Linked DNA regions of Homo sapiens: region 2 is linked to region 1. The links are contacts of gene promoters, found by promoter capture Hi-C in human tissues and cell types (Jung and others, 2019). All regions are on one chromosome and are shown on one strand. The core of a region is centred on a gene start or on the middle of the fragment in contact, and the rest is flanking DNA. Distances in the headings are between cores, read along the strand shown. Region 1 holds the start of EFCAB13 (EF-hand calcium binding domain 13). Region 2 overlaps LOC105371814 (a long non-coding RNA gene).

The links. The method cuts DNA at HindIII sites, captures the fragments that hold promoters and counts their contacts. A contact is called where the count stands out against the background at its distance.
Region 2: a fragment that was not itself captured here is called in contact with the fragment with the promoter of EFCAB13 in region 1 in 1 of the 25 tissues and cell types used here (heart left ventricle).

The regions. Positions count from the first base shown.
Region 1 is chr17:47,320,953-47,326,584 of GRCh38, reverse strand. It overlaps EFCAB13 (EF-hand calcium binding domain 13), which reads right to left and starts at 2,630. Exons shown (of 25, transcript NM_152347.5): 1 at 2,511-2,630; 2 at 2,062-2,131; 3 at 198-359. EFCAB13-DT (EFCAB13 divergent transcript) reads left to right here and starts at 2,684. Exons shown (of 3, transcript NR_110880.1): 1 at 2,684-2,896. RefSeq lists enhancers at 1,842-2,021, 2,062-2,151 and a silencer at 2,492-2,901. The HindIII fragment of the contact is 8,264 bases long and covers 1-5,632 here.
Region 2 is chr17:48,899,104-48,904,735 of GRCh38, reverse strand. The region is part of intron 1 of LOC105371814 (a long non-coding RNA gene); the gene reads left to right. It also overlaps the pseudogene LOC100419622. Among named protein-coding and RNA genes, the nearest start is that of UBE2Z, 6.5 kb to the left of the region's middle. The HindIII fragment of the contact is 4,077 bases long and covers 2,306-5,632 here.

The DNA of each region.
Region 1 (5,632 bases), core at 1,381-3,880:
ACCAACTATAGCCTAAATTTATAAAGAACTGGGACTGGTAACTTATCATTCTTAAAATTATTTCTCACAGTATCAAATACAATGGTATATATATAATGAAGGAAAGAGTAGAGGAAAGGAGGAATGGTATGGAGGGAGGGGAAAAGAGAGGGAGAGAGGGATGAATGAACAAATTCCCTTCCTACTAAGCTACTCACCAAGATTTCTTAAATCATCAAAGTGCTTAATTAAGCAGAGTTGACACGTTTTGAATAAATCTTGAAAGGAACAATTGTTCTGTAATTTATTGACGAGATTATCAAAAAGTTGGCAGGTCTTAATTTGCTGGATGAATCAGGTACCGCATAAGCCTCTCCAAACTTAAAAGAAAAAATTAACTTAGAAAGTCTATTCCCTGTAACTCTGACAATATAATTTTTCTCAACTATTTCAATCCTGTCTTCTATCGGTGAACTTGCAGGAACAAATCAAGAGAAATGGAGGGAGTCGTATCCCTTTTCTCCAGTCATCTATCCATTCACCTTTCTATCCATGAATTCAACGTATATGTCTGCATGCTTAGTGTGCACTAGGTTCTCTCCTAGGCTCTAGGGATATACCAATGAACAAAATATATATATGCTATATATATATATATATATATATATATATATATATATATTTTGTTTATATATATATAAAATCTGCCCTCATGAAGCTTATGTTCTAGTCAGGGAGTGAAATAATAAAATAGAAAAATAAAACATATTGTATGTTATCTGCAATAAGTACAAAAAAAAAAGTAAAGCAGGGAGGGGAATATGAAATGTAGTATAGGGGAAGAGATGCAGGGAACAGAATGGGTGGCCAAGGAAGACCTTACTGAGAGGGAGACTTTTGAGTACAGACCTGCAAGAACTGAAGTAGGGAGCTGATTAATATCTTAGGGAAGAGCATTTCAGCCAGAAAGAAAAGTAAGTACAAAAGCCCCGAGGCAAGAAGAATGTTCAAGGAATAGTGGGAAGGCCCCAGGAGGCTGAAGCAGGAGAGATCAGAGAGGCTAAGTGAAAGTGGCATATCATGGAGGACCCCTAGATGACAGTAAGAACTGTGGCTTGTACTCTGAAGGAGTGACAAGCATTGAAAGAGTTCTGAGGAGAAGGATTACATAATCTGAAGTTCTTTCTGAAAGGATCACTCTGGTTACTGTGAGGAGGGAAATCAGGTAGGTCTGGGTTCCTGAATGCCAAGTGAAGAAAGTACTTCAAGAGTGAGCAATCAGGCTGTGCATGGTGGCTTATGCAGGTAATCCCAACACTTTGATGCGGGGGTGGGGGTCTAAGCAGGAGGGCTGCTTAAGGCCAGGAGTTCAAGACCAGCCTGGGCAACAGTGAAACTCCCACCTCTACAGAATTTTTTTTTTAATCAGCTGGACATGGCGACCTTAGTCCCAGCTACTCCAAAGACTGAGCCAGGAGGATCTTTTGAGCCCAGGAGTTTGAAGCTGCAGTGGGCTATGATTGCACCACTGCACTCCAGCCTGGACGACAGAGACCTTGTCTCAAAAAAAAAAAAGGGGGGTGGGGTGGGCGGTTAAGATCAGTACTGAATGGTTCGCTAGGTTTCACAACACGGAGGACACTGACAAACTTGAAAGGAGCCATCTGGGTGGGGTGGTAAGGAGACAATGTCGTCAGAGTGAGTACAAGAGAGAACGGGGTAAAGAAATTGAACCCAGCCAGTAGGGTAGGCTCTTTCAAGGAGTTACGTTGTTAAGAGAAATAAGGCAGTAGCTGAGAGGAAAATGGGGCTGTGAGGCTTTAAGATGAGAAAAACAAAGGCGTCTTCACTGAAGCATGACTCTGTATGACATCCTTTCACAAAATACCTTCCTCTTTCCTCTCATGCCACATTTCCCTCACAAGCCGCCCGACTCGCTCGCTTTTCTCTCGCCAGAGGGACTGAAAACGTCATTAATACCAACTGCATACACAACTCCATTGCAGCTACTGCCATTCATGAACGTTCAAACTTTCGTCACCCTGTTTTCATATTTGTGTAACAAACGTCGAGTGAACGAACCTCCACCTCTTCCAAGAACCCACGCTGAGGAGGCTTCCCATAGACCCTGCTCTTACGAAGCCAACGACTTCTACAGGAAGAAAGAGGACCTGTAAGCTAGCGAGTGAACGACCCGCAAGATGGAAATGAGTGTGCTAATAGAGGTCTCCGCCTCCCGCTGAAGGAGCAGGGAAGTGACACCACCCCCGGGACCGCCAGCCTTCTACAACAACCACCATTTCTGAGGAACCACCTGATCAGTCTCAGTCACCCTTCAATCTGCCCCTTTGTCCCACTCAGTCCCCTCACTGTTCCTTTCTGGAACCTTCCTTCACCCAGCCCCACCACTGTTCTCCTTCCTCCCTCGCACCCTACTGCATTCTCCACCCTCCACCTCGAAGGCTCCCCTCCCAACTCCTCAGCGGGTCTCGCCTCCCCTCCCCACCTCTGTCCCCCAAGGGTCCCACTACCGGCCCGAGCTGCCCTCCCTTCCTCTCGGCTGGAGGCCCCCGCGCTCTCTGTGGTCAGCCCCTGCCGCCCCTCGGGCGGCGCTGCTCTAGCTCTGCAGCCTTCCCAGGATCCCGCGCCGCGCGGCCCCGCCCCCGCGGTCACCTGACCGAGCCCGACGCTCCGCCCACCGACCACCCCGAGCGGAGCGGGCCCAGGACCCTATCGGCTGTCGAGCCGGTGCTGCCGCGGCCACCGCCACCGCCCAGGGGCTCCGGGGCTGTGGGGAGCGGCTGAACTCAATACCGCCTCCGCGCTGACTGGAAGGCACTGCGGCCGCGCCTGCCTGCCCCACCTCGTAAGGGCCTGTGACCTCACGAGGCCAGCCGCCGGGCGCTGCATTCGAGCGGTGGGGCTCCTGTCCGTGCGCTTTCCTCCCGCAGCCCCGGCCGGGATTCCGCCCTCCGTCCTTGCCACCCGCTCGCCACTCTTCCCTAATCGCTGTTCATTCTCCGGTGCGCTGTCCCGCCATGGTCTGACCCCACTTCAATCTTACCTTCGGTCCGTCCTTTGAACACCCCGACCCCCGACCCCTTTCTTCCAAAACATTCCATCCTTCTTGGCTTCTGCTACTCAATAATGGACAGCAGCTCGAAGGCCATGTGTCCCACGGCTTTGCTGAAATTTGTCTCGGGTTGCCTTTAAGGAGACTGTCGTTTCCTTTTGAAAGAGATACTTTGGTTGGTTTGGTTTTCTTCTGTGTGTTTGTTTTTCCTATGTATTTATCGTATGCAGTTGGGCAAAATACTTAACGCTCCCTGAGTCTCGATTTTCTCATTCTTCCAGGGTTGTGGGAATTCAAAAATATATACGTAGTGCTCAATAAATGTTACAATATTTAATCCCTTCCGTGATACTACTGTGTTCATTTACATCTTAAACCTTGCTTTGTAGGCATTCTTTAATATTTTATTTAGATTTTTATTATTATTAAATATATGTACAAATCATAATTGTAAATATTTAATGGGGTACAATGTTATATTTTAATATATGTATACAATATGGAACGACTAAGTCAAGCTTAACATATCCATCACCTTGTTTAACGTTTTTTATGGTGAGACATTTGAAATTTACTCTTAGCAGTTTTGAGATATACGATATATTATTATTAGCTATAGTCACCACACTATGCAATAGATCTCAGAAACTTGCTGCTTTTGTCTGACTGAACCTTGTACCCTTTGAACAGCATCTCCCCATCCTGCATCTCCTACCCGCCCCGTCCCTTTCCAGCCTCTAACAACTATTCTACTGTCTACTTCTATGAGTTTGACTTTTTAAGATTCCACATATAAGTGAGATCATGTGGTATGTGTCTTTCTGTGCCTGGCTTTTTTCACTTAGTATGTCCTCCAAGTTGATTCATGTTGTCACAAATGACAGAAATTCTTTTTTAAGGCTGAATAGTATCCATTGCATATGTTGATTCATGTTGTCACAAATGACAGAAATTCTTTTTTAAGGCTGAATAGTATCCATTGCATATGTTTACTACATTTTCTTTATCCATTCATCCATCGATGGACACAGGTTGATTCCATTATCTCAGCGATTGTGCATAATGCTGAAATGAACATGGAAGTGCAAATAAGTCTTTGATATACTGATTTCAGTTACTCAATATATGCCCAGAAATAGCATCGCTGGATCATATGGTAGTTCTATTTTTAATTTTTTGGGAAACCTCCATATAGTTTTCCATAATGGCTGTAATAACACTAACAGTGTAAAAGGTTTCTCCACATCCTCAGCAACACATTTTTTTCATCATTTTGATAATAGCAATTCTTTTTTTTTTTTTTTTTTTTTTTTTTTGAGATTGAGTCACTCTGTTGCCCAGGCTGGAGTGCAGTGGCACAATCTCAAATCACTGCAACCTCCATTCCTGGGTTCAAGCAATCTTCCTGCCTCAGCCTCCCAAGTAGCTGGGATTACAAGCATGTGCCACCACACTTGGCTAATTTCTGTATTTTTAGTAGAGATGGCGTTTCACCATGTTGGCCAGGGTGGTCTCAAACGCCTGACCCTCAAGTAATCTGCCCACCTCAGCCTCCCAAAGTACTGAGATTACAGGTGTGAGCCACCACACCCAGCTTAATAGCCATGCTAACAGGTGTGAGGTGATATTGTAATCTTATTTTGCATTTCCCTAATAATAGTGATTTTTTTTTTCGCAAACCTGTTGGCCATTTGTATGTCTTCTTTTAAGAATGGCTGTGTCAGGCTGGGCATGGTGGCTCACACCCATAATCTCAGCACTTTGGGAGGCCAAGGTGGGAGGACCGCTTGAGCCCAAGAATCTGAGACCAGCCTGGGCAACATAGTGAAGCCTCATCTCTACAAAAAAAAATTTTTTTTAAAAGTCTATTCAGATTATTTGTCTATTTTTAAAATCAGGTTATTTGCTTTCTTGCTACTGAGTTTCTTGTATATCTTGGATATTAACCTCTTGTCAGATGTATAATTAGTAAATATTTTCTCCCATTCAGCAGGTTGTCTCTTCACTCTGTTAACTGTTTCCTTTGATGTGCAGAAGTTTTTAGTTTCATGTAATTCCATGTGTTTATTTTTTGTTTTCTCGCCTGTGTTCTTGAGGTCATGTCCAAAAAAATGCCCAGACCAATGTAGTGGAGCTTTCCGCCTGTTTTCTTCTAGTGGCTTTCTTCTATTTTTTCTTCTAGTAGCTTTCCCTCTATGTTTTCTTCTAGTAGTTCCAGTCTTACAGGTAAGTCTTTAATCCATTTTGACTTTTGTATACGGTGTGAGATAAGGGTCCAATTTCATTTTTCTACACATGGATATATGGTTTCCCAACAGTTTTTATCAAAGAGATTCCTTTCCCCATTGAGTGTTCTTGGCTCCTTATCAAAATTCAATTGTCTGTAAATTCTGGACTCTCTAGTATGTTCTATTGGCCAATGCATCTGTTTTTATGGAATACCATGCTGTTTTGATTACTGTAACTTTGTCGTTTATTTTAAAGTCAGGGACTGTGATGCCTTCAACTTTGTTTTTTTTTTGCTTTTTTTTTTTTGAGATGGATTCTGGCTCTGTCTCTCAGGCTGGAGTGCAGTGGCAC
Region 2 (5,632 bases), core at 3,095-5,594, 1.6 Mb before region 1:
GGCTCTAGACAATGTATTATATGTGAATCCAGCACAGGGCATGGCACAGCTTAGGCGCAACATGAAATGAAATGAATCAATATAGTATTTTATGCAGATTTTGCGTTTTGTTGGTATAGTGTTTTATCAGCATAATAAAGATGCCAGAATATCTATAAAAGGATACACAAGGCCGGGAGTGGTGGCTCATCCTGTACTCCCAGTACTTTGGGAGGCTGAGGTGGATCACCTGAGGTCAGGAGTTCGAGACCAGCCTAGCCAACATGGTGAAACCTCGTCTAAACTAAAAATACAAAAATTAGCTGGTCATGGCAGCAGGCGCCTGTAATCCCAGCTACTCCTGCTGAGGCAGGAGAATTGCTTGAACTTGGGAGGCAGAGGTTGCAGTGAGCTGAGATCGTGTTGTTTCACTCCAACCTGGGCAACAGAGTGAGACTGTCTCAAAAAAAAAAAAAAAAAAAGAGGATACCCAAGAAAATGTTAACAGTGGTTGCCAGCTGGGTGCGGTGGCTCATGCCTGTAATCCCAGCACTTTGGGAGGCTGAAGTGGGTGGATCATGAGGTCAAGAGATCGAGACCATCCTGGCCAACATGGTGAAACCCCATCTCTACTAAAAATACAAAAATTAGCTGGGCGTGGTGGCACGCGCCTGTAGTCCCAGCAACTCGGGAGGCTGAAGCAGGAGAATTGCTTGAACCCGGGAGGTGGAGGTTGCAGTGAGCTGAGATTGCAAAGCGCATGCCTATAATCCCAGCACTTTGGGAGGCTGAGGTGCACGGATCACTTGAGGTCAGGAGTTTGAGACCAGCCTGGCCAACATGGTGAAACCCCATCTCTACTAAAAATACAAAAATTAGCTGGGCGTGGTGGTGGGCACCTGTAATCCCAGCTACTTGGGAGGCTGAGGCAGGAGAATCACTTGAGCCCGGGAGGTAACACGCCACTGCACTCCAGCCTGGGCAACAGAGGGAGACTATGTCTCAAAAAAAAAAAAAAAAAAAAAAAGGACTCCAGAATTTTGCTTGATTATTATTTATTCAGTAAGGTGGTCAAAGGTCAGTTTGCTTGGTAACCTCATACAAAGAAAAACACTATTCCATAGCTCCTCCATAGCTACAGAATACAAAGGCCCAGAGGTGGCCCATGGGGTGAGGGGATTCCTCAGTGTATCTCACCACTGGACCATTATTTTCAAGTACAAGGTCTGGTAGTGATGGGGCAATGAACAGAAAACCCTTACCTTAGATTTAGATGGAGGTTCAGGTTTTTAATCTGCATCTCTTACCTTCTTTGAAGCCTATTTTTGCAGCCTATATTTTGCAATATAGAATAGTGAAAATTCCTACCTCTCAAGGTTTCCCTGAGGATTAAGTGTGGCATTTCCAGAAGCTTTTGTAAAGTGGCAAGGACTGTACAAATAATTGGCATCTCACTTTCCAGTGTACCTTCTCCCCCCTCCAAGCCTTTGCCCATTTTTTCTACTTGGAATACTCTTTTTTTTTTTTTTTTGAGGTGGGATGGAGTTTCACTCTTGTTGCCCAGGATGGAGTGCAATAGTGCGATCTCAGCTCACTGCAACCTCTGCCTCCCGGGTTCAAGCGATTCTCCTGCCTCAGCCTCCCAAGTAGCTGGGATTACAGGCATATACCACCACTTCCGGCTAATTTTGTATTTTCAGTAGAGATGGGGTGTCTCCATGTTGGTCAGGCTGCTCTCGAACTCCTGGCCTCAGGTGATCCGCCCGCCTCGGCCTCCCAAAGTGCTGGGATTACAGGCATGAGCTACTGCTGCCCGCTGGAATACTCTTTACCTCTACCATATCCTAGGTAGGGAAATCCTAGTTGTTTAAGCTCTATGAACCTCTGCTCTTCATCAGCAAAATTGAGAAAATAATAGTAGCTACTAAGATCATGTGATAATGAATGTATACAATGCCTGGTCACTGGAAATGTTCAATAATTATTAACTCTTATTATTCTTACTCATTCTTCAAGGCTGGCTGGAATATTACTTTCTCTGCTAAACACTGACACTTCCAGGCATATTATTATTATTATTTTTAATTACTCCCTCCTCTGGTTCTCATGGCTGATTACTCATACCTTTATTATAACATGCACTACTTTTTATTTTAATGGCTTTTTACTCATCCCTCTGGCCACTAGATATGACCTCCTCCTGGGCAAGAAGCATGGGGGCACCTATCTTTCTATCACTTGGACCTGACATTCAGTGGGTGTTGCATAACTGGTGAGCAGAATGGAAATGAGAACACGGTAGCCAGCTGCCCTTCCCCTGGCTATAGATCTTACAGTTTTTATCTAAAAATATGTTTAGAGGCCAGATGCGGTGGCTCACGCCTGTAATCCCAGCACTTTGGGAGGCCGAGGTGGGTGGATCACTTGAGGTCAGGAGTTTGAGATCAGCCTGGCCAACATGGTGAAACCTCATCTCTACTAAAAATACAAAAATTAGTCGGGCGTGATGGTGTGTGCCTGTAATCCCAGCTACTTGGGAGGCTGAGGCAGGAGAATAGCTTGAACCCGGGAGGCAGAGGTTGCAGCAAGCAGAGATCGTACCATTGCACTCCAGCCTGGGCGACAGAGTGAGACTCAGTCTAAAAAAAAAAAGAAAAAGAAAAAAATATATATATGTATATATATGGAGACAAGGTCTCACTTTGTTGCCATATATATATATATATATATATATATGTATATATATGGAGACAAGGTCTCACTTTGTTGCCATATATATATATATATATATATATATGTATATATATGGAGACAATGTCTCACTTTGTTGCCATATATATATATATGTATATATATGGCGACAAGGTCTCACTTTGTTGCCATATATATATATATATGTATATATATGGAGACAATGTCTCACTTTGTTGCCATATATATATATATATATATGGAGAGAGAGAGGGAGACGGGGGCGGGGGTGGGGGGGCGGGGGGAGGAGAGAGACAGACAGACAAGGTCTCACTTTGTTGCCCAGCTGGTCTTGAACTCCCGGCCTCAAATGACTGTCCCGCCTCAGCCTCCCAAAGTGTTGGGATTATAAGCATGAGCCACCATGCTTGGCAGCTATATATCTTAGCATTTACTTCCTCTGCCATGCTTATTTTTTCTTCTTTTTTCCTCCAGTATCCTCATTTTAACAGTATTATACCTATTATATTTCCAAAAAGGCTGAGCCAAGCTTGCACAGAGAACCTGCAAGTCAGGGCCTGAAGGGCTGCAGGGGATGGCAGCTGCTTAAAGGACCAGTTAACTACCTCTGGGAGGCCTCTAAGCTGGGGGAGAGAGGAAGGGCCAGACAGAGGGAGCAGAACATAAGCTGGTGCTTCTTAGTTCCGTGCTCACTTTTTCAAGGCCAACACTTAGCTGCTTTCCCCTGGCAGCTTGGGCAGAGGGCAAACATGTGCATCCTTGGAGCCACTTCCATACCCTCAGAGGTAATTGACACAACTGAGTGGAACTCAGGAACCTGGATCAAAGCCTCTCTCTCCTTAGCACTGACTACAGTGCATTGGGCTGTCTCTTGGTGCAACAAGGTTTGGTAGCACGTCGCTCGTGGCACCTAGGCAAGTGCCCTCCATCTGACAGGCATTAGCAAGTGTCCTGGGGTTCAGGTCTCTGCTGTGCCTCAATCCTCTGAGAAGATACACCATGAAGATCCTTCTCCTTCCCTTCCCTAAAATCCTGGGTCCTATGGCCCTCTGGAGTAGACCTCCAGGGCCCAGCCTTTTGTCTTGGTTAAATGCCAGGGATAAATGAAAAAGAATTCCCACCATGTCATAAACCTTACACTAAAGAGAATAATCAGAACTTGGACTAGATGTTTTGAAGCTTCTGATTGTAATATCTGTTTTTTTTTTTTTTTTTTTTGAGATGGTCTCTCGTATTGTCACCTGGGCTGGAGTGCAGTGGCGCGATCTTGGCCCACTGCAACCACCACCTCCTGGGTTCAAGCGATTCTCCTGCCTCAGCCTCCCGAGTAGTTGGGATTACAGGTGGCTGCCACCACGCCCAGCTAATTTTTTGTATTTGTAGTAGAGACGCGGTTTCACCATGTTGGCCAGGCTGGTCTCGAACTCCTGACCTCGTGATTCACCTACCTTGGCCTTCCAAAGTGCTGGGATTACAGACGTGAGCTACCGTGCCAGCCATGACATCTGTTTTTAATAATTTAATCTGTTATGTGTTATCCCGTTAATTCCCTCTCTTTGCCACCATTGCTGAACTCTTAAGGTGATGGTTGCTAATTGTTTTCTGCTCACTATTCCTCTGAGAATATAATGAATACAATGGGCCCTCTCCCAAGAACAATGCATTGCTGTATCCACTAAAAATATTTTACACTAAACAAAATGGTCTCATCTATGGACCAGTCCATAGACCCTAGATAAAGAACCTTAATGATAAAGTTCTGGGACTAACTAGCTTGGTAGGGGGTAAGGAAGCATTCTCCCCTGACTCTCCTGGACTCCGTGGGCCCACCAACCACATTCCCAATTCTGCTGACTTGAGTTTATAAATGCAGCCATTCCAAGGCTGTTTGGAGCCCTTCATGAAGGGAAATTCTTTTTAAATTTTTATTATTATTTTAAAAAAACAGAATATTTATTGCATGACTAATGGTTGAAAGTTTTTTTTTTTTTTTTTGAGATGGAGTGTCGCTCTGTTGCCCAGGCTGGAGTGCAGTGGCACGATCTTGGCTCACTGCAACCTCTGCCTCCTAGGTTCAAGCAATTCTCCTGCCTCAGCCTCCCGAGTAGCTGGGACTACAGGTATGTGCCACCATGACCAGCTAATTTTTTTTTGCATTTTTAGTAGAGACGGGGTTTCACCATGTCAGCCAGCATAGTCTTGATCTCTTGACCTTGTGATCCAGCCGCCTTGGCTCCCAAAGTGCTGGGATTACAGGGGTGAGCCACCGCACCCGGCCTATCGGTTGAAATTGTTAAGATGACTCGGATGCTGCAACAGCTGCCCTTTTGTGTTTAGGTGTTGTTTCTTCACGAAATCCATGCCTGAATCTGTGGTATACAGCTTTTAGGTGTCTCATTCGACCAGTCCCAGTGGCATTTCATCTTTGAGCCTTGGCACTCCAGTTATACTTCCTCTTGTGCTTGGCAGGGTAGCCACATTTGCCACAGGTCGACTTTTTTTTTTTTTTTGGAGATGGAGTCTCACTCTGTTGTCCAGGCTGGAGTGCAGTGGTGTGATCTTGGCTCACTGCAACCTCCACCTCCCAGGTTCAAGAAATTTTCTGCCTCAGCCTCCTGAGTAGCTGGGATTACAGGCGTCTGCCACTGTGGTCGGTTAATTTGTTTGTATTTTTAGTAGAGACGGGATTTCACCATGTTGGCCAGGCTGGTCTTGAACTCGTGACCTCATGTTCCCCCCCCCCCCCCCCGCCCCCGCCGCCCCAGCCTCCCAAAGTGCTGGGATTACAGGCGTAAGCCACCGCGCCTGGCCCGCCACAGGTCGACTTCTGAAGGTGGTAGGCCTTAGAGCCATATTGGTGGCACAACCTGTGTGTCTTATTGCAACGCTTGCCAAACGTTGACGTTCCCTTCGTCTTGCTTCTGCAGCCGAGACCAAAGAG